Linked DNA regions of Homo sapiens: regions 1, 2, 3 and 5 are each linked to region 4. The links are contacts of gene promoters, found by promoter capture Hi-C in blood cells and fetal thymus (Javierre and others, 2016). All regions are on one chromosome and are shown on one strand. Each heading gives the region's core, a stretch centred on a gene start or on the middle of the fragment in contact. The rest is flanking DNA. Distances are from core to core; before and after follow the strand shown. Region 1 overlaps DCBLD2 (discoidin, CUB and LCCL domain containing 2). Region 2 has its middle 13 kb from the start of ST3GAL6. Region 3 overlaps ST3GAL6 (ST3 beta-galactoside alpha-2,3-sialyltransferase 6). Region 4 holds the start of CPOX (coproporphyrinogen oxidase). Region 5 has its middle 3.2 kb from the start of OR5K4.

Evidence for each region. The method cuts DNA at HindIII sites, captures the fragments that hold promoters and counts their contacts. A CHiCAGO score of 5 or more calls a contact.
Region 1: a contact is called between a fragment that was not itself captured here and the fragment with the promoter of CPOX in region 4, in 3 of 17 cell types (neutrophils, fetal thymus and monocytes). The highest score is 12.2, in neutrophils.
Region 2: a contact is called between a fragment that was not itself captured here and the fragment with the promoter of CPOX in region 4, in 1 of 17 cell types (fetal thymus). The highest score is 6.3, in fetal thymus.
Region 3: a contact is called between a fragment that was not itself captured here and the fragment with the promoter of CPOX in region 4, in 1 of 17 cell types (megakaryocytes). The highest score is 5.3, in megakaryocytes.
Region 5: a fragment that was not itself captured here is called in contact with the fragment with the promoter of CPOX in region 4 in 3 of 17 cell types (naive CD8 T cells, total CD8 T cells and activated CD4 T cells); the score reaches 5.6 in naive CD8 T cells.

Annotation. Positions count from the first base shown.
Region 1 is chr3:98,835,089-98,837,788 of GRCh38, forward strand. All of the region lies in intron 3 of DCBLD2 (discoidin, CUB and LCCL domain containing 2), which reads right to left. Among named protein-coding and RNA genes, the nearest start is that of DCBLD2, 65 kb to the right of the region's middle. The HindIII fragment of the contact is 7,617 bases long and covers 1-2,700 here.
Region 2 is chr3:98,748,948-98,751,702 of GRCh38, forward strand. It overlaps a transcript of ST3GAL6 not described here. Among named protein-coding and RNA genes, the nearest start is that of ST3GAL6, 13 kb to the right of the region's middle. The HindIII fragment of the contact is 1,038 bases long and covers 973-2,010 here.
Region 3 is chr3:98,766,429-98,769,128 of GRCh38, forward strand. ST3GAL6 (ST3 beta-galactoside alpha-2,3-sialyltransferase 6) reads left to right here. Exons shown (of 10, transcript NM_001323368.2): 2 at 2,002-2,101. The coding sequence starts at 2,013. Among named protein-coding and RNA genes, the nearest start is that of ST3GAL6, 4.4 kb to the left of the region's middle. The HindIII fragment of the contact is 3,601 bases long and covers 1-2,700 here.
Region 4 is chr3:98,592,355-98,595,054 of GRCh38, forward strand. CPOX (coproporphyrinogen oxidase) reads right to left here and starts at 1,257. Exons shown (of 7, transcript NM_000097.7): 1 at 595-1,257. The coding sequence starts at 1,150. RefSeq lists a silencer at 796-1,245 and an enhancer at 1,746-1,795. The HindIII fragment of the contact is 5,536 bases long and covers 297-2,700 here.
Region 5 is chr3:98,349,309-98,352,008 of GRCh38, forward strand. No RefSeq gene overlaps it. Among named protein-coding and RNA genes, the nearest start is that of OR5K4, 3.2 kb to the right of the region's middle. The HindIII fragment of the contact is 6,090 bases long and covers 1-2,700 here.

The sequences.
Region 1 (2,700 bases), core at 166-2,665, 240 kb after region 4:
CAGCCTCCCAGGTAGCTGGGATTACAGGCATGTGCCACCACACCTGGGTAATTTTGTATTTTTAGGAGAGATGGGGTTTCACCATGTTGGTCAGGCTGGTCTCGAACTCCTGAACTCAGATGATCTGTCCGCCTCAACTTCCCAAAGTGCTGGGATTACAGGCAGGAGCCACCGCGCCCGGCATACTCGCACATTCTTAAGTCCCTACTCTTTCCTGGCATTCCTCCCTTACCTAGAATGGGTTTCTCATCACCAAAAGCATCCTACCCACTGTTCAAGGTCAAATTCAAATGTCAACTCCTGGGTGTCCCCAGCCAGAAATGATTCCCTTCTCATTTGTTCTTCTAAGATAACTATTTTCTTGCCATTTAATTATTCTTCACTCAGTAAACATCTATTGAGCACCAAATATGTGCCAGGTTCACTTATCCATCCTCTCACTCCGTATGCTATTTTTTTTTCTTCTTTTTTTTTTTTTGAGACAGAGTTTCTTTTTTGTTGCCCAGCCTTGAGTGCAATGGTGCAATCTCGGCTCACTGCAACTTCTGCCTCCCGGATTCAAGCGATTCTCTCGTCTTAGCCTCCCGAGTAGCTGGGACTACAGGCACGTGCCACCATGCCTGGCTAATTTTTGTATTTTTAGTAGAGACAGGGTTTCACCATGTTGGCCAGGCTGGTCTCAAGCTCCTGACCTCAGGTGATTCACCTACCTTGGCCTCCCAAACTGCTGGGATTATAGCGTGAGCCACCACGCCTGGCCACTCCATATGCTACTATAATTATTTGGTGCTTATATGAGGGGAGGAGATGAATTTTTCTTTCTTTCTTTCTTTCTTCCTTCCTTTCTTTCTTTTTTTTTTTTTTTAAGATTTTTAAATTTTTGTTTATTCACATTGAGGAGAATCTAAATTCTTTTGAACTTATGTATAGATTTCACCATTTTATAGTAATAAATCAGTCCTCCTGTGTGTGTGTGTATGTGTGTGTGTATGTAAACCTCACCTTGCAATATTATTATTTTAAATAGCCACTTGCATCTTAAGGAAATTAAGAGGACAAAAGAAAAGCTGCTGTTTTGTATGTATCCACATATTTACCAGCTGCTTCCCTGCCGGCAGGTGCTCTGGTTCTGCACTGCCTGTTGTCCCTTGCCTGAAAATGGTTGCCTCCAATATTTTGCTCAGTTTTCTGATTGTTTACAGTGGCAGAGGAGGGTAGATCTGGTACCAGTTAGTAATTGCCAGAGGTGGAAGTCTGTGGATGAAATTTGTATAACATGGAACGTTAGTTCCACAGTTAATGCTACTCAATTGGAACCCATGGAAATTATTTTTTGGTGAAAAGGGCCCATGCGTTATGAAATTTGAGATCCAGAACAAAATGAAAAGTCTCTCATGTCTACTTCTTTCTACACAGACACCGCAACCATCCGATTTCTCAATCTTTTCCCCACCTTTCCCGCCTTTCTATTCCACAAAGCCGCCATTGTCATCCTGGCCCGTTCTCAATGAGCTGTTGGGCACACCTCCCAGACGGGGCGGCTGGCCGGGCAGAGGGGCTCCTCACTTCCCAGTAGGGGCGGCCGGGCAGAGGCGCCCATCACCTCCCGGACGGGGCGGCTGGCCGGGCGGGGGGGCTGACCCCCCCATCTCCCTCCCGGACGGGGTGGCTGGCCGGGCGGGGGGCCGACACCCCCACCTCCCTCCCGGACGGGGTGGCTGGCCGGGCAGGGGGCCGACCCCCCCACCTCCCTCCCGGACGGGGCGGCTGGCCGGGCGGGGGGCCGACACCCCCACCTCCCTCCCGGAGGGGGCGGCTGGCCGGGCGGGGGGCTGACCCCCCCACCTCCCTCCCGGACGGGGCGGCTGGCCGGGCAGAGGGGCTCCTCACTTCCCAGTAGGGGCGGCCGGGCAGAGGCGCCCCTCACCTCCCGGACGGGGCGGCTGGCCGGGCGGGGGGGCTGACCCCCCCCATCTCCCTCCCGGACGGGGCGGCTGGCCGGGCGGGGGGCCGACACCCCCACCTCCCTCCCAGACGGGGTGGCTGGCCGGGCAGGGGGCCGACCCCCCCACCTCCCTCCCGGACGGGGCGGCTGGCCGGGCGGGGGGCCGACACCCCCACCTCCCTCCCGGACGGGGTGGCTGGCCGGGCAGGGGGCCGACCCCCCCACCTCCCTCCCGGACGGGGCGGCTGGCCGGGCGGGGGGCCGACACCCCCACCTCCCTCCCGGACGGGGCGGCTGGCCGGGCAGAGGGGCTCCTCACTTCCCAGTAGGGGCGGCCGGGCAGAGGCGCCCCTCACCTCCCGGACGGGGTGGCTGGCCGGGCAGGGGGGCTGACACCCCCACCTCCCGGACGGGGCGGCTGGCCGGGCGGGGGGCTGACCCCCCCACCTCCCTCCCGGACGGGGCGGCTGGCCGGGCGGGGGGCCGACCCCCCCACCTCCCTCCCGGATGGGGCAGCTGGCCGGGCAGAGGGGCTCCTCACTTCCCAGTAGGGGCGGCCGGGCAGAGGCGCCCCTCACCTCCCAGACGGGGCGGCTGGCCGGGCGGAGGGCTGACCCCCCCACCTCCCTCCCGGACGGGGCGGCTGGCCGGGCGGGGGGCTGACCCCCCCACCTCCCTCCCGGACGGGGCGGCTGGCCGGGCAGAGGGGCTCCTCACTTCCCAGTAGGGGCGGCCGGGCAGAGGCGCCCCTCACC
Region 2 (2,755 bases), core at 242-2,741, 160 kb after region 4:
TCCCTATCTGGATCAGTCCCTAGTCACCCTACAATTGGAACTTGATGATTACTTGTGAACTACTTGTTAATTTCTGCCTTTCTTGATGAACTGTAAACTGTTTTTCTTCTTCGCTGCTGTATCTCCAAAGCCTAAAACAGTGTCCAGCACAGAGTAGTCAGTGAGAAATTCTTTATTGAAGAAATCAACAAAGTTACCCTAGAAAGTGAAAACATTCAGAGTTAAATTTAGCAAGAAATGATTTTGAAATTCACTTTGCCTTAAGGATCAATCCACTGGTTTTAGGAAATAAATCTAGGATTGTTTCATTTCATAAAAAAATCTATCATATGTATTGATTTATTTGTAATAATAAATTATAAGTTGCCCTAAATTAAGATTCACCTCATATTTGTAACTTAGCTCTAGGAAATCATCTGATTGATAGTGGTATATGTGTTGTCACATTTTCATTTGCTGTGGAGAGCAGGACAGTTTCAACACGGGAATTTTAAGGTTTGGTATATGCTCATCTGATTGTTCACCCTTAAGCTAACTCATTTCTTTCTTTTAAAAATAGCAGAAAAGGTAAGGGAAAAAAATCAGATTGGAGAGGATATTTCCTAAGGGCCAGAATAATCCAGGCTTATTCAGAATAAATTGGCATAATAAGTATTTGAAAACAGAACTTTCAAATATCAGATGAAATGTTATTTATAACTTTTAAGCAAACTAAAACAGTAAACTCTTTGGAAGGGGGACTTTTAGAATCAGGAAAGACAGAAACTTGTTCCCCCTTAGTTGTAGTTTTATTTACCCTGGGAGAAAAACATAAGAATGCTTTCAAGTGTAAGGAAGGGCTGTGTATTCAGATATCAGCATACTGCTCCAAGAAAGACATCAGAGAGTTTTGAACTGATTGAAAGCCCAAATCTATTGGATCAGTTGAGGAGCAGAGCAAAATATGACCAAGCAATAAACGAGTACCTTCAAAGCTTTTAAGAAATTCTTATAGTTTGTATAGGTGGTTGGGAGGTGAAATTCCAGGGCTAGGAATATAATGTAAAGCCCTACAATGAAAAAGAAGACTGCAAATTGTGGCCTTAGGGGACTTTCCCTGCCCCGTTCAGAGACACATGATTTTTTTTTAACAGAAATCCCTGGAAAAATTACTTTAGAGCCATGTTTTCTTGCATTCTGCATTTTCATTAATGGTAGTATACTGAAATCACAAATTCATTCATTCTTTTCTTCATCAGAGCACATTTACTTAGTTTTAAGTACTTTCCAAGCTCAGAATAAGGTCACCATTCTTCTATGGAAGTGAAACATCTCTTCTTTAGAATTGTGCAAAATTAATTACTGGTTGGGGTATGACCTTGGGGGTATAGGATATAACATGTTTTTGGACATTTGAATGTGTGGACTCACAAAACTCTGCTAATAACCACTTAACCTATTTATTAATCATCTGCCTCAAAATCAGGGCTGAAGACTTTTGAAATAATGTAGTTAGAAGACTCTGTACAGTGACCATACTTTGGGAAACCCTGGTTTAAGTAACATTCGAATGTTCCTGTTCACCCTAAATTCTTGCCACTCAAAGCAGGGGCTTCAGACTAGCAGCACTGGCATTCTTTTTTTTTTTTTTGCATGATTTGGGAGCTTGCTGGAAATGCAGATAACCAGGCCCTGCCCTAGACATGCTGAATCAGAATGAGCAACTTAACAGGATGCTCAGGTGATGCCAATGGCTATTAAAGTTTGTTAAGCACTGCTCTGCCCACTCCTGCCAAATGGACTTTAGAACATACTAGTAATGTGTGACCCACTTTCCAAGAATGCATCCTGTATTAGGCAGTCCAAATATTAGCAAGGTCTTCCTAGTACTGAGCTCAAACTTAACTCCTTGAATTTTGCATTCACTGGCCTTGGCATAACTGCTTGGTAGCCATCAGAACCAAGTAAAATCCTCTTCATGAAGGACCTTCAAGCCTGTGACTAGGCTGTCTTGTTTCCTTCCTTGATTTAAGCTTCCCCAGGTGTAACTAAATCCCTGTTTCCCCCAGTATGACAGTGCTTGAGGTTTCTTTACCAACTTATCCAGACTAAATAATCTTTTTTTTTTTTTTTGAGATGGAGTCTCGCTCTGTTGCCCAGGCTGAAATTCAGTGACATGATCTTGGCTCACTGGAGCCTCTGCCTCCCAGGTTCAAGGAATTCTCCCTGCCTCAGCCTCCCGAGTAGTTGGGATTACAGGTGTGAGCCACTGCGCTCGTCCCAGACTGAATAATCTTAAAGGACCCTTCCAACTTTAAAATTGTGATGGATTCTTTAGTAATAAGTAATAGTGGATAGAAGATGATGGAAACTCAGGAACTATACTTTCTATACATTTAAGGAGAGAATAATCCTGAGGCACAAATATATCATGATCCATAATTTCTTTAGGTTCAAAATTCTGTCTCATGGTGAAGACTTCTCTAATAGTAGGCATTAAACAGCACTCCTTTGCTTTTCTCTTGATTTCTAAATGGGTTTGCTACTTAACACTTCAAAAGTGAAATGTATATAGAGATATATGAAAATAAGCACTTTCAGTTTCTTTGAAAATTGAAACATTTATGTACTTAAAAAAATTCTCTGTAATCTACAATTCAGCACATCAGCTGATTTTGTTTTTCTTTAATGCCTTTCAGTACAGTACATTCTCATTTAATGTCATTAATAGGTTTTTGGAAACTACAACCTTAAGCAAAACATTTTTGTTCATTGT
Region 3 (2,700 bases), core at 49-2,548, 170 kb after region 4:
TTTTTTTTTGGGAAAGGGAGTCTCACTCTGTCGCCCAGGCTGGAGTGCAGTGGCGTGATCTCGGCTCACTGCAACCTCTGCCTCTTGGGTTCAAGCAATTCTCTGCCTTAGCCTCCTGAATGGGTGGGATTGCAGGTGCCTGCCATCACGCCCGGCTAATTTTTTTGCATTTTTAGTAGAGACGGTGTTTCACCATCTTGGCCAGGTTGGTATTGAACTCCTGACCTCGTGATCCACCTGCCTCAGCCTCCCAAAGTGCTGGGATTACAGGCATGAGCCACTGCGCCCAGCCAAATGAAGTTATTCTTAGTGGAGCCTTAAATGTTTGATTTGAGCATTTAATAAGATGTTCCTCACTATTTTGGCCCATGGTAAACTGCCTTCCAGGACCATCTAATAACCCAAAGAGGTAGATGGTGTGTTCTCACTTGTAAACACATGAGGACCCTCAGGTCAGAAGAGGTAGACTGATTTACCTTAGGGTCCCCACACCATATGTAGAGTTAGGCTGTGAATCTTGTCTTCTGATTTCCAACCAGTGTTGACTCTTCACAGGGATTATGTATACCTAATTAGAAGTATGTGTGAACTAAAGTTTGCTCATTAACTTGCTTATTTATTTGCTTTCTCCTGACATAGTTTTCATTTCTAACTAATTTAGAATAGTGGCATGTGGGGGTGGTGACTGCATTAATAGCAGCAAGAACCAACAGCTGACAGCAAGGGAGGAGTGAAAAGCAACTCAACCAGATAATCATGCCAGTTTAGGACTGCTTAGCAAATAGCCCCACACACCCATTAGCTGCAGAGGGTTTCAACTGTAAGAAAGCCCAGAACAATTATATTTGTTGAGCTGACCCCATATTATCAAGAAAAGTTTAAATTATGTTTAGTATATTCTACTTATGAAGGCAAAGGGAGTGGTTTATTTTAAGATTTCCATTTGAACATATTTACCATTAAAAAGAAGGCAATGCCATATTATTTGGAAATTTATTCAACCAGACTCCCAGGTTCTATACTGCATCGCCATGATTGAGGTTAATAGGCATGGATAGGAGTGAAAGGAGTGGCACATGCAGTTGTTTAGACGAACTAGAAACTTGATAAGGGAGACAGAGAAGCAGTGTACCTGTTTAAAGTCACAGGCGTTGAAATAGGTCTATTATGGAACCATATGTTAAATTTGTCTTTTACATTTAATTACATAAGACAATGGAAACTTTTCCTTTTTTCCTTTGAAGCAAAAGAGAAAACCAAACATGTTTTATAGGTTTTTAAAATATATTCTATAAAGGCTTTTTTTGCATTTACATTTTAGAGAGGATTGTGTCAAGGTTTTTGTCTGTCTGCAAATGTGTAATGAATAATATTGTCAATTTAATACAAAACAAGCAAGTAGCTGAATATACCTGAACTGTGATGTGGAAAAATCAAATAGGTGGATCTAAAAGTATATAAAAATTGAGGATGAGGGAAATGTTTTTTCAGTAGCTTTTTTCCTCAGTTAAAAATTAGAAAATGACTTGTAAAAATTATAATGTATAACATTTTAACATCATTTCAAGCACTGAAGAAATGAAATATTCACAGTTTAAGGCATCTATTCACTTTCTACTGAGAGAGAAAATAGATAGGTTTTAATGTTTGTGAAAAAAGTTTTGGATATGGAATAGATGTGTAAAATTTTATTCTGAAGGAATTATTTCTTTCTTACCTACCATGAGAAAGTAGTAGGGGGAGGCCCCTACCTTTGAGACCGTGGAACTGTTTATTGGCCTAAACATACATTATGTTGTGCTTATTGATAAAAGGAGAGACAGAAAAAACATTATCTTTCTGCACGTTTAGTGAGTATTTCCAAAATTACATGCCCACATCATTTTTTTCTATAGTTCCTTTTGTATATTTTTTCCAATAATGCTTATATTTGAGCCATTGTGAAAATCCATTTGTATAACAACCTGGCCTTTGCTTTGGACTTCATTCCTTGTGTTTCAGGTGAGCCAGCCATGAGAGGGTATCTTGTGGCCATATTCCTGAGTGCTGTCTTCCTCTATTATGTACTGCATTGCATATTATGGGGAACGAATGTCTATTGGTAAGTTTCATTTTGTTATTTAAAAATAACTCTCAACCTAGTCTTTCACACAAATCCACAAATTATAGTAGAGGGTCCTATGAAAAAAACTTGTACCATTTTGAATATTTTCTTGCTTTCCATTGTAAATTGGGGTTTTACCATTCCAGTATCCTATAGATTGTATCTCGAACAATTTAAAAGTTGACAAGCAACACCTACTTTCTATTGACTTCCCAGGGAAGCCATGGTGTTAACCATCTTTGGGTTATAACATTCTTTCTTTATGCTATAGATCATCTCCTTGAGTTAATGGCGTAATTACTGGGCTCAGTGGTACTTTTGGAACCTAAAATGCTTGCTTAAGAGATTATTGATAAAATACAGATATTACATATGGTTTCCTTTGTTTAAATATATTTGGTGAACGATGATATATGTATCTTCTGAAATAGCTTTGACTTGAAATACCACATATAAAACTTTGAAGAGGCACAGATAGTTTTACTGAAGAGAAAGCCTCTGTAATAGGGATTTTAACCTTCTCATTGTCAGTCCTTTGGCTAGGAAAAAAGTTTTGATGACCTTTAAATCCCAAGCGGGTGGCAGTACATAATTAT
Region 4 (2,700 bases), core at 7-2,506:
GCTCAAGTATTTTGATATTGGAAGAGAAGATTTTCCTAGCAGGAAATCTGATGCGTGCATTTGGTAGTGCTACTGAGAAACGAATCAAATATATCTTGTGTAACAGTAAAAAGAAGTGGGAAGATTCTGACACAATGACATCCTGGCTGGAGGAGTTTAGCCGACACTTAGCGCACAGGAGATGAGTTCTTTCCATCTCCTAAAGAGGAAAAAGGGCAAATTCACCCAGAGAAGGAGAGAAAATGTGTTCCATAATCTATTGAAATTTATGTTCAGTAACGAACTTTGGACATCTAAGCTTGTTAGCTGCAAATACCCCTTAAGAGTTCTACAAAAAAATGCTGCTACGGAATTGCAAAGATTTTGAAATGCAGTACTACAGTGACAGCTGATCCGGGTCCATACCTGCAAGCAGAGGGCTAGTGACCCTTTCGTGTCCATCTTTTTATCAGCGGCCTCTAACCAAGCGGCCTCTCTGTGGGTACCCCCTACCTACCCCATCCCATATTGTGAACTATTATATTTTCTGTCTGCAACCTGGAACCTGACCCTTTTTCCCTGTCTCCAACTCCCGCCAGGGGCCGGCCTCCTTACCTTCCTTCCTCTCCCACCGGTCCACAGAAAAGTTGGCGCCCCCGTCTACCTGTGCCAGAGCCTGGCACACCTGGGCCTGGGTCTCCAGAATCAGCAGCTCCATCTTGGTCTTCATGTCGCCCGGCCTCCTTCGCAGCTCGCCCAGGTCGGTCACAGGCGGGGCCATGAAGCTGCTGCAGCGGTGGGCCAGCTCATCCTCCTCCTCCTCCGGCCTCCCCAGCGAAGTGGCCCGCGTCCCCGAGGTCTTAGGCAACATCTCCGCCCGCTGCACATGCCCGAAGGCGGCGGTGGCCAGCCCCACCAACCCCGCCAGCGCCGCGGCCAGCCCTGTCCCCACCCAGGGGCCGCCTCTCGACGTCGAGCCGTGCCCCAGCCCGCGGCTCTGCTCCGTGCCAGCCGGGCCAGGGGGCCGGCAGACGCGTCCGGCTGCGCTGCGCTGGGACCAGGCTCGGAGCCCTCCGCCGCCGCACTGGGACCAGGCGCGGGGCCCTCCGCAGCCGCCCCGCGCCACGAGCCAGCAGGGGCCCGAGCTCAGCCTGCCCAGCTGCAAGGCCATGTTCCCGCACTATCACCTGGAGCAGTGCCTGCGTCCCAGAGCCCTGCGTTTGAGCCCCCCACCCAGACCCCCGGAGTATTGAGCCGGCGAGCTGCACAGGCGGAAAGAACCTTTCGAGAAGAGCCGCTGCAGCGTCGGGCTCCGGAGGCGGGGGCGGGAACTGGGGCGCGCTGGGAGCTGTAGTCCGGATCCTATCGCCGCCTGCGGCGTCCCTGCGCGGGGCGGGAGATAAGAATCCGACGCGCCCAGAAGGGCTGGTCCGAAGGGAAGAGAGTGGGGCGGGGACGGTGCTGTGGAAGGGACGGGAGAGATAAAAGAGGCTTTCTTGTCACGTACAACCTCGGGTCGGCTGTTTACTCAGCCAAGGAGAGAAGATAGAGTAGGGCTGGGAGGCTGAGGGCGGACTGGGGCGGAAATGTGGCAGAGATCCCAGTCCCGCTTACATTTTCAAACAGGATTTGCGAATACAGAGCCTGGCTCAGGATCTGTATAGACCCGCCCTTCGCCCTGGGTCCTGGTCCTCTAGAGTTTTTAGAGGGGATGGGCAGGCTGGGAAACTCTTTGCTGAAGGATGGTTTTCTAAAGAGAGTGGGAGAAGCTAGTAATGGACTCGGAAGAGAGTCGAGGAGAAGACTTTCTGTGATCGAGTCCACATCACAGTTCTGTCCTTAAGATTTCCCCAGGCTGGGGCCGGGCGCGGTGGCTCAAGCCTGTAATGCTAGCATTTTGGAAAGCCGAGGCGGTTGGATCACATGAGGTCAGGAGTTCGAGACCAGCCAACATGGTGAAACCCTGTCTCTACTAAAACTACAAAAAAATAGCCGGGCGTGGCGGCGTGCACCTGTAGGCTCAGCTACTCGGGAGGCTGAGGCAGGAGAATCGCTTGAACCCGGGAGGCAGAGGTTGTAGTGAGCCGAGATCGCACCACTGCACTCCAGCCTGGGTGACAGAGTGAGACTCTGTCTCAGAAAAAAAAAAAAAAAAAAAAGGTTTCCCCAGGCCTTGCTTCTATAGTGCCTACTTGATTATTTTAGAAAAAGGAAAAGCAACGTGACTGTTTTGGTTAACCAGTAGAAAATTCCTGACTTGGTGTGTTTTGGTGATTAACAAATAAGAATTTAAAAAATAGTTATTCTACTACTGTAGGGTGCTCCCAAATATTGCTCACGTTTAATACTTACAACAACTGCTACAAACTAGGCAAGGCAAATATCCACACTTCCTCCTACTCTGTCTCCCTTCCCCCACCCTTTAAAGAAATGAGGAAAGAAGCTAATAGATTTGACAGGCAGGTCTTTGTCTCCCCTGTAACCATACCACAGCTCCATGGTTCCTGGACGTAAAAGTGTGAGAACTATTGTCATGGGCTAATTTGTCCCATAAGTCTCCGGGATGATTTTAATTTCTAGTAGTAGATAATAATTTAAGCCACTGGTAGCTTTTCCCACAAGTGTTTTCTTTGTGGCAGGATGCACTGATGGAACTTCAATGGCTTTTGAGTCAGATCAATTGGCATCTTGTCCACACACAACTGTACCTGGCAGCTCTCA
Region 5 (2,700 bases), core at 2-2,501, 240 kb before region 4:
GCAAAAATTATCTGATAACATACTAAAAACTCTCATGTTTGCTTATTTTTTAAAAAATTTGGAAACACAATGTTTCCACCTTCATAAAAATATTCCACATATTTTAAGAGAAATTTGAACTTGTTTTTCAAATTTAAAAATTTTTAATTTGCTTACACTTTTTAATTTTCTTACAAAACAACTGATTGACATCAGAGAGTATGGTGATTTACTGGCTAAATATCAGGCAAGCCTTTTCTAAATTAGTGTCTAGTATTTAAAACAAAGTGCCATAATTTTGTAAAAGTACCCAAGGTTGTACTTTTATTTTAAGGAATTTGTGCGTGTGAGGAAAGGAAGAAAAGAGGATCTAAGAGAAAACATGGAGAAAGAACAGCCCGAGATGTAGCAATAAACAAGCATTAAATCACAGAAGCCTGAGAAGCAAATATGCTTCAGAGTGTGGTCAATGGTGCCAAATCATAAAATTAATTAGTTAAGATAATAATTTAAAAAAATGCTTTAGGTGTGGTAATTAGGAGTTGAGTAGTGATCTTAGTGAGAGAGTGGCGATGAGAACCTCCAACTCCTTCCTGTCATGAGCCCAGACTCTGGCTACTCTGGTTCACTCTCCATTCACTGAATATGCTTTGTGCTTTCAAGTTTCCATGCTTTTACTTCTAATCATGCCGCTCCTTCAACCTGTAATTCTTTGCTACACATTCTTCTTGCCTATTGAAATTTAATTTATCCTTCAAGAATCATGAGAAATGTCATTTTGTATAATGTCTTCTCTTAGTTCTCTAAGTCCTTCTTTGTGTTCTCATATACCTTGCTTATAGTTCAGTTTGTAATACTTAACTCAGCCTGAGTTTCTATATTATATCATTGTATAAGTGATTTTATCCTCTAGATTGGGAGCTCTCTAAGGGCAGGATTATTTCTTATTTATCTATTCAGGTTCCTGCCCTAACTCACTCCTACCACATACCCCTCCTTGCGCAATGTCTTACTCCATGACTTCTCTATTGTAGTCACTCTATAATGTTGAAGTTAATTTAATTGAAATTTCTGCAAGCAATTCAATAAGCATTCACCGACGGCCTACATTTTCTGGAACTATGAGGGATTTGCAGTGTGGAAAACCAAAAAGAAAATCAATCTAAGAATAAACAAAACTTGCACATGAAGAACAGCTGAATGAACACAGGAGTGAAGTACAATTAAGAGCTCTTTGCATCACACAAACAGTCATTATCTTGCAGATCAGAAAGTTGAGGATGTCTTCATAATGAGAATCAGATCTCATAAAAATTGAGTAAGATTTGGATAGAAGAATAAATCAAAGAGGGCATTTCATGTGAAGAGTAGATTCTGAGTAAATATTCTGAGGTCAAGGTTAAACTCTAACACATCAAGGAATAGATAAGTTATAGGCGTGTCTCTGGAGATGGATTCTTAAAGGTGAATGGTAGAAAATAGCCTTAAGTGATATAAGCCCTCTGTATGGAGCCCTTGGAGTACCAAGATAAAGGACAAAACTTGGTTTGAAGACTAATGAGAAGCCAAAAATATTTCTAATGCATAAGAGCATATCTACACACTAGAGAAAAGATGGGGATAGGAGACCAATTAACAAGTAAGTTATCTTATGATGATGGCATTGATTATGGTAATAGTTTTGTGGGTGTATACTTATGTCCCAATTTATCAAGTTGTATACATTATATGTGTATAGCTTTTTGCACATAAATCATACCTCAATTAAGTTTTTTAAAGTTACCTTATGACAAATAAGTGAAACTGAAGAACATAATGTCAGACTTACTTCAGAGGATGAATGTACAAGATTTGACCAGATTAATTTGGGGAGCAAAAGAAAGGAATACAACCCTGGGTGATCCTGCCACATTTTTGCCTCTTGTCCACAAATACAAATCTCTCTTCAAATCTCTGTTTAACTTCCACCTCAACTGATCAATGTAAATCTTTTTCTCTCCATCATAGTTTTCAGGTAATCAAGGGGTGTGTGTGTGTGTGTGTGTGTGTGTGTGTGTGTGTGTCTGTGTGTAAGAGAAAGAGAGAGTTTCCAAGTATGTGAAAAATCAAGATGAACCTTAAGCTGTTTTTAGTGATAGCAATTTTGATTTAACTTCCGAATCTCAAAATGCATCCATCTTTATATGCTGTTTGATTTACTGGTGCTGGGGGAACCATGCTCATCAGATTAGAGTCTCTGCAGAAACACTCTGATGCCAATGCCGAGGAAGTCCCTTTAGAATAGAAAACTTTAACTTTGCCTGAGACTTGCATAACTATTGTCACTAACCTATTGGTAGGGAGTGTCCTAGATTTTTATAATTTATTCCCTAATGATTTAAAAACCAATGTTTTTATTCTTAATTTCCCTACAAAGAAAAAACATCAGGAGACCAGTCAGCTACTATAAAATGTTTCTCAGTGAACTCAAAATATGAGGACTTAATTTTATTTACTAATTTATTTATATTATAGTATCAAAATGCAGAATATAAATTTTCTAATATACTTCAGTATTTTTATTGTTTTTAAATTTTAGCCACTTAATAATTCTCTTTGTCTCTAAAGTGAAGCCATTATAGAAAGCCATAAGGAGACATAGTAAGTGGATAAGTCTGACCTATTCTTTGTTCAAAAGTACCATAATTTTATCAGCAAATACACAGATAAGGCTGATGATGT